Linked DNA regions of Homo sapiens: regions 2 and 3 are each linked to region 1. Evidence: promoter capture Hi-C in 16 types of primary human blood cells and fetal thymus (Javierre and others, 2016). All regions are on one chromosome and are shown on one strand. The core of a region is centred on a gene start or on the middle of the fragment in contact, and the rest is flanking DNA. Distances in the headings are between cores, read along the strand shown. Region 1 holds the start of USP37 (ubiquitin specific peptidase 37). Region 2 overlaps SMARCAL1-AS1 (SMARCAL1 antisense RNA 1). Region 3 overlaps RPL37A-DT (RPL37A divergent transcript).

Region 1 (4,866 bases), core at 1,536-4,035:
TGATTATTCTGGGCACGGTTGCATGCATTAATTATGCTTCTCAAATTCCAGTGAGTGATATGCATCATTACTGTCCCTTTACCCACATCAGAATAATGCAGTTTGCTCCAACGGAAGGCATGAAGAATTGAGAATGAGGTGGCTCAACTTTTTACGTTTTAGTTTCCTCACTAGCTAAATATAACCTAGTGAATGAGTGGTACGAAGGAATTTGTCAGAGCTGCTACGAGGTCCAAACATCCTAAGTGAAAGTGCATCTAAAAGTTCAAATTTTAAAATTAATGTAAGGCACTGAAAACGTGAAGAAACATGTATTGAGTACTTATTATAAGTAATGTACCACAGCTTTAATGGTTGTTTAAAAGATGCATTAGGGAGCAATTGAAAATAAAAGGAATAGCTACAGAGTTTGGGAAGGCACAGGGAAAAGAGTGGCTCAGTATCGAAGATAAAATTCGGGAGAAGACACAATCAGATTTTGAGAGATGGACAAGTCAACCTTAGAATAATTTCCCTTATTTAACCTGTCTTTCCCCTAATAGCAGCACACTCATCTTTCAACTTGCTTTTCCCCACGTTACATATATAATTTGGGAGAAGGAACAAAAAAGCTAGGGGAATTGCAATGACCTAATTGAGATATAAAAGATACTCTCTACATTGAATAGTTACAAACACTTAGAAACAGTATGAAAGGAGGCAGAGATACCAACAGCACTGGAACTGACAATGGAGATCAAATCTCAAAAAGCAGTTTTCTATAGCTTAGTCATACTTGGCTCAATTTTTCACTTTTTGTACTTAAACGTATGGCAATTTTTGGTGCTTTATTTAGTAATTACGTCATTTTGCCTGATAATACAATTTCAGTACATTACTTTCCTTAAATCATTTCCCTTTGGTTAAACAGAAAAAGCAGAATTGGTCTTCAGGCAGGTATGCTCAAATCAAATGATCTCCTTTCCCCATCATGGCAATGTTCTTTCAGTGGTCACCTTCCCTTCAATATTCTTTCATGCAGCAAAGTATCTGAGTCTTTAATCTTGTACTAGGAACTGTCCTGGCACCGGGGAAACCACGTCAACAGGGCTCACATGATCCCTGTCCCTGCCCTCAAGGAGACAGACAACAAATAAACGAATACAATAATTACACGGGGATCAGGGCTGTAAAGGGTACTCTACTAAAGTTAGAGGCTGCGGAACTAATTTGAAGAGGATAGTCAGGGAAGGCCACTCTGAGACCGATTTAGGCAGAGACCTGAAGAAAGATGGATTTGGATAAACAGTTTAAGGAGAGGAAGGAGAGTTCAAGGAAGAGGTACCAATTACACTCATGCTGTGTATGTAAAGGAGGAGGGATAAGAAGAACATTCACTCCAGGCATAGAGACCACAAAGTGCATCTTGGAGAAAAATAAGCGCGTTGCAGAGGGTTAGGTGGCCAGAGTAGCTGAAGCTTTAGGAGCAAGAGACATAAAACGAGATTATAAACGTGGGTTAAGTACCACATCATACAGGGCCGTGCAGGCTATGGCAAGGAGTCTAGATTTTATTTAAATGCCAAGAGAAGTAGGATTACTTCGGATAGCTGAATTACACTATCTTTCTTTTTTGTTAAAAGATCACGCGGGTAAAACGAGATGTGTCGAGGAAAAGTTTTAAATGCAGAGAACCTAAGTCAGATGCAAAAATTATGCACTTTTCCGGGCCTCAGGTTTTCCATAAATAAAGCAAGTGGTTTGAACTAGAAGCCATTTCCTTCCCGCTGCGACGTGGTGAGTTCTAAGAGCAGGGGCCGCGTCAGATTGACCATGGAATTCCCCTCATCGACGCCGGCGCCCAGAACACAACTGGCGCCCTGAAACTGTTGGTCAGCGCAATAAATCAATGAATGGCCTGCTACGGGCGTGGGACCAGGCCCCGGCGCCCGCAAAGAACGCGATGGGTCGCGCTGAAGGCCGCGAGAGGCGTCCGGCAAGGAAATAGGGGCCGGCTCCACCACAACCAAAGCGTGCCGAGGAGGGGAACCGGGGCCTTGGAGATTGAGGGCAGAAAAAAATCAGACTAGGGACCCGACACCGGGAATTAGGAGAGAAGGCCGAAACGTGGGTCTGAGAAAGGATTCTGGTTCCAAGCCTGGGGGCCCAGCCACTCACCGCAGCCGTCGCCAGGCTGTGCATGTTGTGAGCGGCCGCCGCTCTCTTCCACAGCCGGACGCGTCCGACCCGCGTCCCCCCTTCAGCACCCCTGCAGCGGAAAACAATGAGCCGCCGTAGCCGCCATCCGACTCCGGCTCGCTCCGCCCACTTCGCGGCCCTCTGACCTCTCACCCCTGACCCCACCCACACATCCTCTTCCCGCCTCCAGGGCCTAGTTAACAGTCCCAGAGTATGTCCTTTGCCCCTTAAGATTTAGGACCGGAAGGACGTCCGCGACCACTAGTCCCCGCAACTTCTGGCTTTGAGCAGTTATTTCCAGAGAGCGGCGTGAACTCTGACCCTCCTCCAAAAGCCAGTGAACGGCGGGAAAAGATGGACAGTCCCGGCAAGACAACTATTGCGCATGCCCGACTGGGTTGCGTAGGAGGGAAATGGTGGGGGGGCGTCGAAATCGGGTGAGGTGGAAAGTGCGCGTGCCTACTACAGTCACGGCAGGGGCGGGGCTGCCCGGGCTAGGCCGCTCTAGGTACTGGCGGGGCGGGGCGAGGGCGTGTGAGGGGCGGAGTTTTCGACTGACGCGCACGCGCCTGTCTGGTCGCGTCGAGTGTGCGTGCGTGCGTGCGTGTTTGCGTGTGGTCACAGTTCCCGCCATCAGCCGCTCTCCCTGACTAGGGGTAGCTAGCGGCCTCCCTCCTTTGGGTTCGGTATCCCTACTTCCATTACCCTCGGCTCCTCCCACTCCTCGCGGGCTCCGTGCTTTCCGCGGGTCTGTCCGGGGGCTCCGGACCCTCGGCGCAGGTAAGGCGGGCCGGGGTAGCTTCTCAATTGAGCCGTTTTCCCTACCTCCTCCTCCTTCTGTGCGATCCGCCCACTCGGCGTTCACTCCTCTGGAGTTCGCCCTGCTGCTACTCAGCCCGCCCACAACCCCTCGATGCACCCCCAGCCTCACAGGTACTACCTTTGGGTGCACTGCCCCGGCTTCCACCTCTCCTTTGACTTGGTCTCCACTGCCACTCGCTCCCTCCGAAACTCAAACCTGGCCCCTTTTCTCTGGGGCTGTTGTCGTTCGCCTCTTACCTTCTAACAGGGCCTGCTGTCTCTTCAGGTGACTTTCGTTACGGCACATCCACCAGGCCTTGGACATGATACTCATTCACTCTCTTGACCATCTTCACCTTCCTCTTGACCAGTCCTCACTGCAAAACATGAATTGTATTTTTGTTGTGCATTTCCTTGCGCCCATTTCTAGCCGCCAGATCAGGTTGTTAGATGTAACTATTTTAAGTCATGATCCATGAAAGGAAATGATGATTGATGATAAAATCCTGTGTCCTGAAGAGTTGTCCTAAAGTGGTTTTGGGGTATTCCTCTCAAAATTTCAGCTCTGTATAAATTCCTTTATTGAGGTGGCAATTCCTGACAAGTGTCTAACTGGAAGAGATACCTGAGAGGGAATGTCAAGTAGGCAGTTGGATATAGTGGGTTTGGAGATCTTAGGAGAGTTCTGGGCTGCGTACGTAAATGTGCGCGGTGTGTGTATGTGTTTGTCATCTGCCATATTGATAGTAATTGAAGCCATGGATGTGGATGAAATTGCCGAAAAAGAGTATAGTGCTGTAAAATAAAGGCACCTAGGATGGAGCATTGACGAATTCCTGCTGTTTAATAACCAATAGAGGAGGATGCGTCTTGCAAGCCATGAAAAAAGTCATCAGTAGTGTTGCATTCTGCTGAAAGGTAAAATGGAAGGAGGACTGAAAAACCCAGTGATATAAAAGTACTCACTTGTCTTAAAGATGTTTGATGAAGTAAAATGAGTATTTGGGTTCAGTCCTAGGTCCTCTTCTTTTACTCTTATATTCCTCCCTAAGCTTTAAATTTGATCTATATATTGATGACTTAAAAATTGTTATTTCCAGCCTATTCCCTTTGTTTTCAGCTCCACATCTAGATAGCCAGCTGTCTGCTTGACATCTCAACTTGATTTTTTTCTTAGGAGTTTCAGATGCAACACAGCCAAATCCAAAGCCTTGATCTTTCTCTCCATATCGAAATTCTTTCTTCTCCAGTGTCCCAGTTTATTAAGTGGCACATGACACAGGCTACACACTTGGGAGGCATTCTTGACTTCTACTCTCTCCAAGTTCTATCCTACTTCCAATACGTGTCTTGCATCTTTTTCTGTACATTTTCACTGTCACTTTTCTAGTTTAAGCCACAGTCCTTAAAAAACCTGGACTTGATTGCCTTGGCTTCCTGTATTATCATCTGTAAAATGGAAATAGTAATTTTCAGCCTATTGGATTGTTATGAGGATTAAGTGAGATAACCATGATAAGCACTTGGCACAGAGTAAATGGCCAGTAAGCATTAATTGTTATTGTTATAAGCTGATCAACTCAATACTCTTCTATCTGGTTACATTATTTTCTTCTGTTCTTGCTCTTAGTCACTCTCCCAAAACCCAAACCAACCATATATGACTTCCTCATTCAGTAGTAACATATTTCTTTGCTTAAAACCTTTTGGTGGATTTCCTCCTGGTAAGTGCTTGTTACATTTAGGATAAAATTCGGAATCTTTACTGTGGTTCACAAGACTGCATAACCTGGTTCTTGCCTGCTTCACTAACTTCATCTTCCTCCTCTCCTTCACTAAACTGTAGCCACATTGCTTTTAATTTCCCTAGTCATATCAAGTTATTTT
Region 2 (4,866 bases), core at 821-3,320, 2.2 Mb after region 1:
CAAATTCTCTGCAAATTTGTTCTGTCCATGGGGGAAAGATAAATGGAGGGGCTGCTAGCTATTTTGTGTTCCTGTTGACTTGGAGGACTTACAATCAGCCCCTTGCACAGAGCCAGGCTACAAGCTGCGGGTTCAGACCTCAGGGTGGGGAGGATACAAGGCTGGCTTTCTGCCCCAAACAGACCTATTTATATCTGCATTCGATGGAGGCACAGCCCAGACTAAATCAGGGAGAAGGAACGGTCCCATTCATCGCAAGGATAAATTACCCTAATTGAGTGGTTAAGAGCCTGACTGATTTCTAGATACTTTACAGTAAGGGACCTGCTACTCCTAGATGCAATAATAGAAAACCACGGGCCATCAGAGCCATTTGGGAAAGAGCATTAGCATCCCGTCTGCTCACATCCTTGGTCCTCAGCACTGGTTTCCAGGAAATTAGCTCCCTTTTAACAATCAGTGCAATATTATTTGAGTTTTTACCTTAATTTTCTCTTGTACGTTTCTGAAAAAGCAGGGTCTCTTTTTCTTATCCCTACATGTATACATGTGCAGTATATGCCTTTTATTTTTAATTTTTTTCATTTTTCCATGTTACGACAGTATATGCCTTTTACATTTGACACAAATCTCTACTCTGAATTACGAAGGTAAATCCCCACGTCCCTCTACCCTGCCTCCGTAAAACAGGCAACTCTGGAATTCCTCCTCCGCACCCCCTCCAGCTTGCTATAGGCACAGACACCTCTGCTTCTGGAAAAAATGAAAACTTAGTTATTTACTTTTTGAAAAATGTAAAAGTCCTGCTTTATGCAGTCAGTTGGAGAACTGGCTTTTAAAAATATTATTATTATTATTTTTGAGACAGAGTCTTACTGTGTCACCCAGGCTGGAGTGCAATGGCATGATCTTGGCTCACTGCAACCTCTGCCCCCCGGGTTCAAGCGATTCTCCTGCCTCAGCTTCCTGAGTAGCTGGGCTTAAGGCATGTGCCACCATGCCCAGCTATTTTTTGTGTTTTTAGTAGAGACAAGCTTTCACCATGTTGGCCAAGCTGGTCTTGAACTGCTGACTTCAAGTTATCTGCCGGCCTCAGCCTCCTAAAGTGCTGGGATTATAGGCATGAGCCACTGTGCCTGGCAAAACAAAAAATATAAATTTTTTAAAAACTGTATCTTTTTGAATAGACAATGCATTTACATGATTAAAGCTCCATATATTTAATATATACAAAAGTATATATAGTGGAATGTCTCCTTTCTGCTGAGGGCAGATTTAAAAAGTAACCTATGGCATCAGAGATCCTCATTGGCATATATCCCTTCTAAGGCTCTGTATCTAATTTTGTATTTTTTTGGTAAAAGTGCTCCCCCCAAATTGTATGAGCTTCAGCACACCCAAAACTTGATTCTGCTCTTCTTCCATTCTTAACTCCCGCATCCCATTCCCTTCCCAGCAGGCAGCCAATGTCATCCATTTCTTTTTTTAAAAAATTGTTTATTTTTAATTGACTTATAATAATCATGGATATAATTATTATATTTCAATTACATAATCAATTTCTTGCATATTTTTCTGGATATATTCTATGCACATTTAAGTAAAAACATTTATTTATCTTCCCTTTCATACAGATGGCAGTGTGCTATATACACTGTTCTGCACTTTTTGCATTTGTCTTGGAGTAAATTCATCTCTTTAAATTTTGTTTTTTCCATCTGTAATATGGAAATAATTGTACCTATCCCATAGACTTCCTGTTAGGATTACCTGAGATCATGTAAAGCACTTAGCTCATTGCCTGGAATACATTAAGTAATCAATAAATGTAAGTTATTATTCTATTAATGTTTAAAATATACTACAAAGCTACAATAATAAAACTAGTGTGATATTGATAACATATTAGCAGACTGATGAAACAAAGTAAGAAGCCTCTTCAACTTGGTCTTTATGATTTGTGTGCAAGATACTGTTGCCAACAGATGAAATACAAACACTAAAAAGAAAGTTTGTCTCAAGGAACTTAAAGACTAGGAGAAGAGAGAATACCTGTGTGGAAAATATAATAAAAAAAGAATTGTGGATAAGATCAGTGCAGTGGTGTGTGCCTGTAGTCCCAGCTGCTTAGGAGGCTGAGTCAAGAGGGTTGCTTGAGCCCAGGAATTCAAGGCCTTAGTGGGCTATGATTATGCCTGTGAATAGACACTGTGCTCTAGCCTGGGAAACATAGTGAGACTCCGTCTCTAAAAAGAAATCAATCAATCAATCACAGATAAATGGCCTTGGGGGTTTAGTGAGGAGCTCTGATGATGGAGACACAGGGAATACAGAATCAGGAAGGTTAAGCGGATGAAGTGGTGTCTGAACTGGCTAAGTAGAAATTTGGAATCCAGCAATAATAGGAAGATGGTGGTTATGGCAAGGATGATCCAATCTGATGGAAGCACAAATGCTGAGAAAAATCTAGTTAACCAAAATAATGTGTAAAAGAGTTTATTCTTTAACATAGAGTTATAGATTGGCAGGATGTTTTCCTATATGACACGATCTCTGGGGTCCTTTCTACAAGTCTGAACAAGTAAAAGAGAGCCAGAAGTCCCTTGGCGGGGGATAAGATGTGCATTTTGATTGAATTTGGCATCTCAATCTAACTCCTAACTGCATTAAAGGGGGAAAACATTATCAATATTAACAAAACTGATCCCTCATGAACAGACTCAAAGTCTAAATCTTTAGCTAGCACTTTATCAATAACATGTTCTAATTACATGTGAGGCTTTGAAAATATACCTCTGTGTGATAATTGCTGGAAAGCAGATTTTAATCCCAGGAACTTATAAATTGCAGTTGTAAAGATGCAATAGAGAGCTTATCCATTGACACTATCTAGTGTCATTTGCTTGCAACTGCAGATATTGACAGGACGCTGCTTGGAACAATGGGTGCCCTGTCCCCCTCTATGACCACCACCCCAGTTGATCAAGTGTATAAGTGACAGTTTATATGCAAAATGGTCCAAAGGCTACCTGATCACCCCCCAAGGCCACATGGGGCTTTGAGGAAACTGAATGCAAAGCCACGTGTTAGATAAAATAAAGCTTATATCTTCATCCCAGAAATTAAAAAGCCCCCTGGCAAAGTCAGCTTCCAGAAAAGCTGAGGCCTGAAAGAAGAACCAGTCCCCCAAAGCTCTATCATTGGATTGAATTGTTTCAGACCTGAGGAGGAGGGAGCTCCTGAAGCTGGGCCCACCCTGGGACATGGAGGGTGGGCTTCTTCTGCCATCTGCCACCTCTTTATTCCAATGCCTTCTCCTCTCAGTCTAGATTTCCCTGGGCCCCCAGTCCTCGCCCAACTAGTGTGTGCTGTTTGTGTGATCAGCAAATCATTTAGGGAAAAGCCTTTTAATTAAGAGGAGAGCAACAAATTATTAAGTCAGAGTCATTTATTACCCTGCCATCTGGCCAGACTTCCTTCTGGCCCCCCTTCTTCCTCAACCAAGCCTGCACAGACATATAAAGTAACAAAGAGAATGGAAAAAGAGGAGACTTCTTTCTGCCTGGACTTGGAAAGAACTGTCCAGCTCCTCCTGGAAGCAGGGTAAGGGTTCTAGGAGGACTTTTCCACACCCTTTGTATACTGTAGTAGCCAAGTCTTGGTTTTCCTCTCCTGTAGAACAGGGATGATGAGGTCTACCTTAGGGCTTCTGGATGCCTGGCCCAATGGCTGGTATAGTGGAGGCACTCAGGAAACAGAAGCTGAATCTGAAGCCTGCAAATTGGAAGCTTTGTTATGGATGGTGGCGTCAGCAGTAGTGGAGACAGTGATGGCTGGAGGGAGCCTACTAAATGTTTCCATCCTGCAAGCTCAGCTGGCTCTCCCTCTGTTGTGACCCACAGAGGTATTCCCTTGCTGTCTCCCTGCAAATGCCAGGGAAGCTCAGGAAATTCATGCCCACCCCTTGCTCCCGTCCCCAACCAAACCTAAATGCTGGGACATTATTCTAAGAGAAAGACAGCTGGAGACCACAGTATCTGGTTCAGGCATGATGAGAAGGACTGAGCAACACTTAGAGTAGGAAGAAGCTAAGGAATCACACATAGGGGTGTATTTCAATAGCCAACAACTCAGAGAGGACTATGCGGGATACATGATAAGACAGGCACTATTTCCTAAAAGCAAAACACCACAGTTATGACAGCTATGAATGAAAACTAATACAGGCATATTGGAGACTCAATTACCATGAGTGGTGTGGCAGTCAATGATGTGATTTTCCAAAAGAGTGAGCAAATCTGGTAAAGAAATTAACAACACAAACTCTAATCTTCCCTTAATTTACAGAGTAGTTTCATTCTTAGCATACAGTTAGTGCATATTAAAAATCATTTTTAAAAAGTCTCTCTGTTTACATATAAAATTGTTACTTTTTAAAGCTCAGATAGTTATAAGCAAGTTATAAACAACTCTGTAAATATCTAGTAGAACATTTGAAAATTGTGTGGAGCATAGGGTAAGTATATATGAGATGGTGAGATTGTCTCACAGATAGTAAAAGATTGAGCTGCCTGGGGTCCCAGCCTCTACTTGCCAGAAGTAAGCCCCTTACCCATCATTGGGGCAACCAAAAACACTCCACACTTTTTCAAAATGCTCCCTCGTGGGTGATCCTGTGCTAGACTAAAAATTGAAATGTGAATCAAACTAAATTAATGTTTAAAAAAACCTTACTTCGACACAATCAAGAAATTTTGAATTTGAATGGATACATGATGATTTGAAAGAATTTTTGTTTTGTTAGATATGATAATTGTCTTAGTCCATTTGTATTGCTGTAACAGACTACCACAGACTAGGTAATTT
Region 3 (4,866 bases), core at 1,451-3,950, 2.1 Mb after region 1:
ACCGTCAATTCTCTGTCCCTCCAGGTCTCTCAAAGGGGTCAGCAGGGAAGAATTGGATTTCTGGTTGAGGCCGGGGGTGGGGAGGGTGTGTTCTGGAACTAGACACATGATCTTCTTTCTTCACGTAGAACACACACACTAGGAAGTTTGGTTGCCTTTTTTCAGGGGATGGCTAATCCAGAGAATAAGAAGCTCAGAAAACTACTGGAATAAGAGTGTAAGAGAGAATCCATGATTAGAGGGCCAAGAAAGACCATGGGAGCTGAAAGGCATTGTGTGGCCCTGATTCCAATCAGAAGTCCGGTAACAAGTAGCTTCCGTTCCCAAAGCTTAATATTAACTGTCTCAAATAATTTTGCACCTGTTCACTTTTCCTCACAATTGTATTAAAGTCAACTTGCATACCTGGGCTGAGGTGGGAAGATCATTTGAGCCTGGGAGGTTGAGGCTGCAGTAAGCTGTCATCACGCCACTGCAGTCCAGCCTGGACAACAGAGTGAGACTCTGTCTCAAAAAATATATATGAATCAAATCAAATCAAAGCAACTTGCAAACAGCTATGTACTTCATATGGTTACAATTGTTGGAGGGTAACACATGGTAGGCACTGAGTATTTTATGTGGATGTTCTCATTTAATTTTCCATTATCCTTTATGATAGGAATGATTATTATCTTCATTACTAAGAAAAAGAGAGGAAGTCTCATGTAATGATTAGGAACTTAGAGGCTCTGGATTCAGTATGGGTTCAAAACAGAACTCTGCTATTTACCAGCTGTGGGACCTCTGACAAGTTATTATATACTTTTCTTTCTTTTTTCTTTTTCTTTTTTTTTTTTTTTTTTTTTTTTTTTTGAGACAGAGTCTCTCTTGGAAAAGATTCTTTGAGACCAGGAGTTCTAGGCAGCCTGGACAATATAGCGAGACCCCATCTCCACACACACAAAAAAATAATAGGCCAGGTATGGTGACACACATCTGTGGTTCTAGCTGCTCAAAAGGCTGAAACGTGAGGATTGCTTGAGCCCAGGAGTTCAGAGGTTACAGTGAGCTATGATCACACCATTTCACTCCAACCTGGACAACAGAGTGAGATCCTTTCTCAAAACAAAAACAAAAAAAGAAAGAAAAAAGAAACTCATCTCAGGGAAGTTAAGAAACTTGCTCAATGTCACACAGCAATTAGAACTCAAATCTGGTCTGTCTGATCCCAAAGTTAGTTCTCCTAATTGCTAGCTTGTACTACGCCAAATCATAATATTTAGTGCACTGAAAAAGCACATCAGAAAACATAGTTGAATTAAAATCAGGTCCCTGGCACTCAGTCTGGGCCAGGATCTGTAACTACCTTGTGGTTTGACTTTAGGTAAGCCACAGTCCCCACATGGAGAACCACCTCCCCACCTCCCAGCAGCCACCATCTTTATTTACAAGGAGCTGGACCAGGTGGTCTTCAAGGTCCTGTCCAGTTCTTCCCTCCTATGATTCCAGGAAGAGCTTCCAGACTTTGAGTGCCACTGGGGCAGTGACCCACCATGTGCTTTATGTCAGCACATCTTGCACAATTTTGTGGAATAAAGGTAGTTGTCTCTTTATCCTCCCCAATCTGTTATTCCAGCTCTGGCTGTGTAAATTCAAGGAGGAGAAAAAGCAAAAAGTAGTGGATAGTGGGAATAGTCAAATTGATTTTTGCATACATTTTTTGCATTTTCTAATTATCTTTTATAATGAGCATGTGTTTCTTTTATAATCTAAAAAAACTACCATTAAAAAAAAAACCCCAAACATCTCCAGTAACGACGAGTATACCTACTGCCCCAGATCTCAGGGTTTGTTTTTATTTGTTTTGTTTTGTTTTGAGACAGGGTCTTGCTCTGTTCCCCAGGCTGGTGTGCAGTGGTGTGATCACAGCTCACTATAGCCTTGACCTCCCCAGGCTCAAGCAGTCCTTTCACCACAGTCTCCTGAGTAGTGCCCAAATAATTTTTTTATTTTTGTAGAGACAGTCTTGCCATGTTGCCCAGGCTGGTCTGGAACTCCTGGGTTCAAGCAATCCTCCAGCCTCAGTCTTCCAGAGTGCTGGCATTTCAGGCATGAGCCACCATGCCCAGACCCCAGATCTTGGTTTATAATATCATTCTTTAATAAAAGGAACCAGGGCCCCTTAGAGAAGTGACTCATTCTAGGACTGCAGCAGGAAATATACAAGGCGAGCCTGCAGTATCTTGTGCCAGAAAGTAAGGAAATGTTCAGAAAACCCTACACTGATGGGGATATGTCAGAGAGACACAGGAGTCAACTGAAAGAACTCCGAATGGCCAAAGCTAGAAAATTTTGAGCAATAAATAAGGTAGTATTGATTTAACCCAAGTGTAAAATAAATATCCATGGGTCCATGTGGATATAAATAAATGATAGACTAAATAAATGAAAGACAAGAGGCAACTCTCTTTTGCAGAAGAATTTATTTTTTCTTTTTTTGAGACCGAGTCTTGCTCTGTCGCCCAGGCTGGAGTGCAGTGGTATGATCTGGGCGCACTGCAACCTCTGCCTCCTGGGTTCAAGCAAGTCTCCTGCCTCAGCCTGCTGAGCAGCTGGGACTACAGGCATGCACCACCACACCCAGCTAATTTTTGTATTTTTAGTAGAGACGGGGCTTCACCATAACGGCCAGGCTGGTCTTGAACTCCTGACCTCGTGATCCACCCTCCTCGACCTCCCAAAGTGCTGGGATTACAGGTGTGAGCCACTGCACCCGGCCAAGAAGAATTTCAAATAATTTATGTGGATATTCTGCTCTCAAGGAGGGTGAGCATAACTCCCCACTCCCTAAGTGTGGGCTGCACAGAATGACTTCCTTCCAAAGAGCACAGTATAGAAAGGGGAAAAAAGAGTAACTTTATAGCCAACACGACCTCAGCCAAGGTGATGAAGGTCAACATCAACAGTGATAATCTTGTTACTATGTCCCCTTGATGTGGAATGAAAATGGCACTTTGCCTCTGTGATCTTTCTCCCAAAACCCATAACCTCAGTCTAATCATGAGAACAATAGACAAATTCCAAAAGAGGGACATCCTTCAATATACCTGACCAGGGCTCCTTAAAACTGTCAAACCAGGAAAGCCTGAGTAACTGTCACAGCCAAGAGGAGCGTAAGGTGACATGATGACTAAATGTAACATGAAATCTTAGAACAAAAAAAAGACAATACGTTAAAAACTAGGAAGATCCGAATAAACTACAGACTTTAGGTCATAATAATGTATTAATCTTGCTTTATGAATTGTAACCAATTTACCATACTAATGTTAAGATGTTGCCGGGCGCGGTGGGTCACGCCTGTAATCCCAGCACTTTGAGAAGCTGAGGCAGGCAGATCTCGAGGTCAGGAGATTGAGACCATCCTGGCTAACACAGTGAAACCCTATCTCTACTAAAAATACAAAAAATTAGCCAGGCATGGTGGCACATGCCTATAATCCCAGCTACTCGGGAGGCTGAGGCAGGAGAATTGCTTGAACCTGGGAGGTGGAGGTGGAGTGAGTTGAGATCGTGCCACTGCACTCCAGCCTGGGCGACAGAGCAAGACTTCATCTCAAAAAAAAAAAAAAAAAAAAAAAAGTTAACAATAGAGAAAATTGGGTAAGGGTATACAAAAATACTCTCTCCTCAATTTTTTTATATAACTATAAAACTGTTCTACAAAATAAAGTCTATTTTAAAACAACCACCACCACCACCCAAGGAGGTCACCACAAGTCAATTCCATGAGGACAGGGCTTGTGTTGTTCACCTCTGCATCCCAGGACCTATACAAGAGCCTGACGTGTCAGCAGTAATGTCTGTTGAATGGGGGATTGTTACCTTGCATGGTATAATGGTGATGGGTATATGAAGCGTTTCATGTGTTTGGGTTTCTCTGCTTTGTAAAGTCAGTCCAGTTATGTCAGAACTGAAAAAGGCTTTAGAGATAATGTAGCCCAAACTGGAAACTGAGGCCCGGGGGGTCAAATGACTTGCCCAAGGTCACATAGCCATTAAGTGACACATAAACGTGTGTTCGCTCCACTGTATCACATGATTCAAGTCTCTAAGTCTCTTTCCGCAGCTGCAAAATGAGTATACTGTACAATAAAGGGTCTCAGGAAGATAAAATAACTTCCATGAAGTGTCTAGTGAACATTTTAAAATAGTGGCCAGTATGTTTGTTGAGATGCTGCTGCTGCTGCTGCTGCTACCTGATTTCAACATCTCTTTCTGCCTTTTCAATCCTCTCTCCTCTTCTGCCATACTCAAGGAAGTACAGAAGATCTGCCTTCTTCTTTCCCTTAAAAATATGCCCATCTCTTTTCTCCTTAATTTCTTTAGCTTGGACACAATGAAACCACTACAGTCATGGTAACTGATGCCGCTTGAGGCCCACAAAGGGAGTGAGATGTGCCCAAGATGTTTCTCTTCCACCACAGGCCTCATGCACCCTCTGCCCCCATAGGTTAGGGTGGAAGATGGCAAGGGGCCAAGGGAACAAGTCCCTCTTCCCTCAGAAGGGAAATGCACTGCATTTCAGGGATGTTATCTGGAAAGCTCTCCACCCAAGCAATGCCTGCCTCCAGAAAACTATAAATTAAAACAAAAATATATCCATGTTGATACAAACAAAGGAGACTAGTGGAAGGAGTCTTAAACAAATGCTCACCATGATCCTCCCTTTTCAGACTGTGCCTCTTGGCCACACAGGATGGTGCTCAATTGAGCTGGGGAGTGGGTGAGTCAGCTTCATGCTGGGGCAGTCCAGGCAGAGCTGAGGTGAGCCATCCTGGGCTGGCACTAGAGCCTAATTCAGATCATCATTTAGCAAATGTG

The links. The method cuts DNA at HindIII sites, captures the fragments that hold promoters and counts their contacts. A CHiCAGO score of 5 or more calls a contact.
Region 2: a contact is called between a fragment that was not itself captured here and the fragment with the promoter of USP37 in region 1, in 1 of 17 cell types (neutrophils). The highest score is 5.9, in neutrophils.
Region 3: a contact is called between a fragment that was not itself captured here and the fragment with the promoter of USP37 in region 1, in 1 of 17 cell types (total B cells). The highest score is 5.1, in total B cells.

What each region holds. Positions count from the first base shown.
Region 1 is chr2:218,566,270-218,571,135 of GRCh38, reverse strand. It overlaps USP37 (ubiquitin specific peptidase 37), which reads left to right and starts at 2,785. Exons shown (of 26, transcript NM_020935.3): 1 at 2,785-2,958. It overlaps CNOT9 (CCR4-NOT transcription complex subunit 9), which reads right to left and starts at 2,297. Exons shown (of 8, transcript NM_005444.3): 1 at 2,158-2,297. The coding sequence starts at 2,181. RefSeq lists enhancers at 1,703-1,892, 1,687-2,314, 2,315-2,942 and silencers at 2,603-2,662, 2,753-2,822. The HindIII fragment of the contact is 2,574 bases long and covers 1,460-4,033 here.
Region 2 is chr2:216,398,316-216,403,181 of GRCh38, reverse strand. All of the region lies in intron 1 of SMARCAL1-AS1 (SMARCAL1 antisense RNA 1), which reads left to right. LOC107985984 (a long non-coding RNA gene) reads right to left here. Exons shown (of 3, transcript XR_001739880.2): 3 at 3,434-3,774. Among named protein-coding and RNA genes, the nearest start is that of SMARCAL1, 12 kb to the left of the region's middle. The HindIII fragment of the contact is 2,067 bases long and covers 1,037-3,103 here.
Region 3 is chr2:216,493,133-216,497,998 of GRCh38, reverse strand. The region is part of intron 1 of RPL37A-DT (RPL37A divergent transcript); the gene reads left to right. Among named protein-coding and RNA genes, the nearest start is that of RPL37A-DT, 3.2 kb to the left of the region's middle. RefSeq lists a silencer at 1,841-1,910. The HindIII fragment of the contact is 4,737 bases long and covers 332-4,866 here.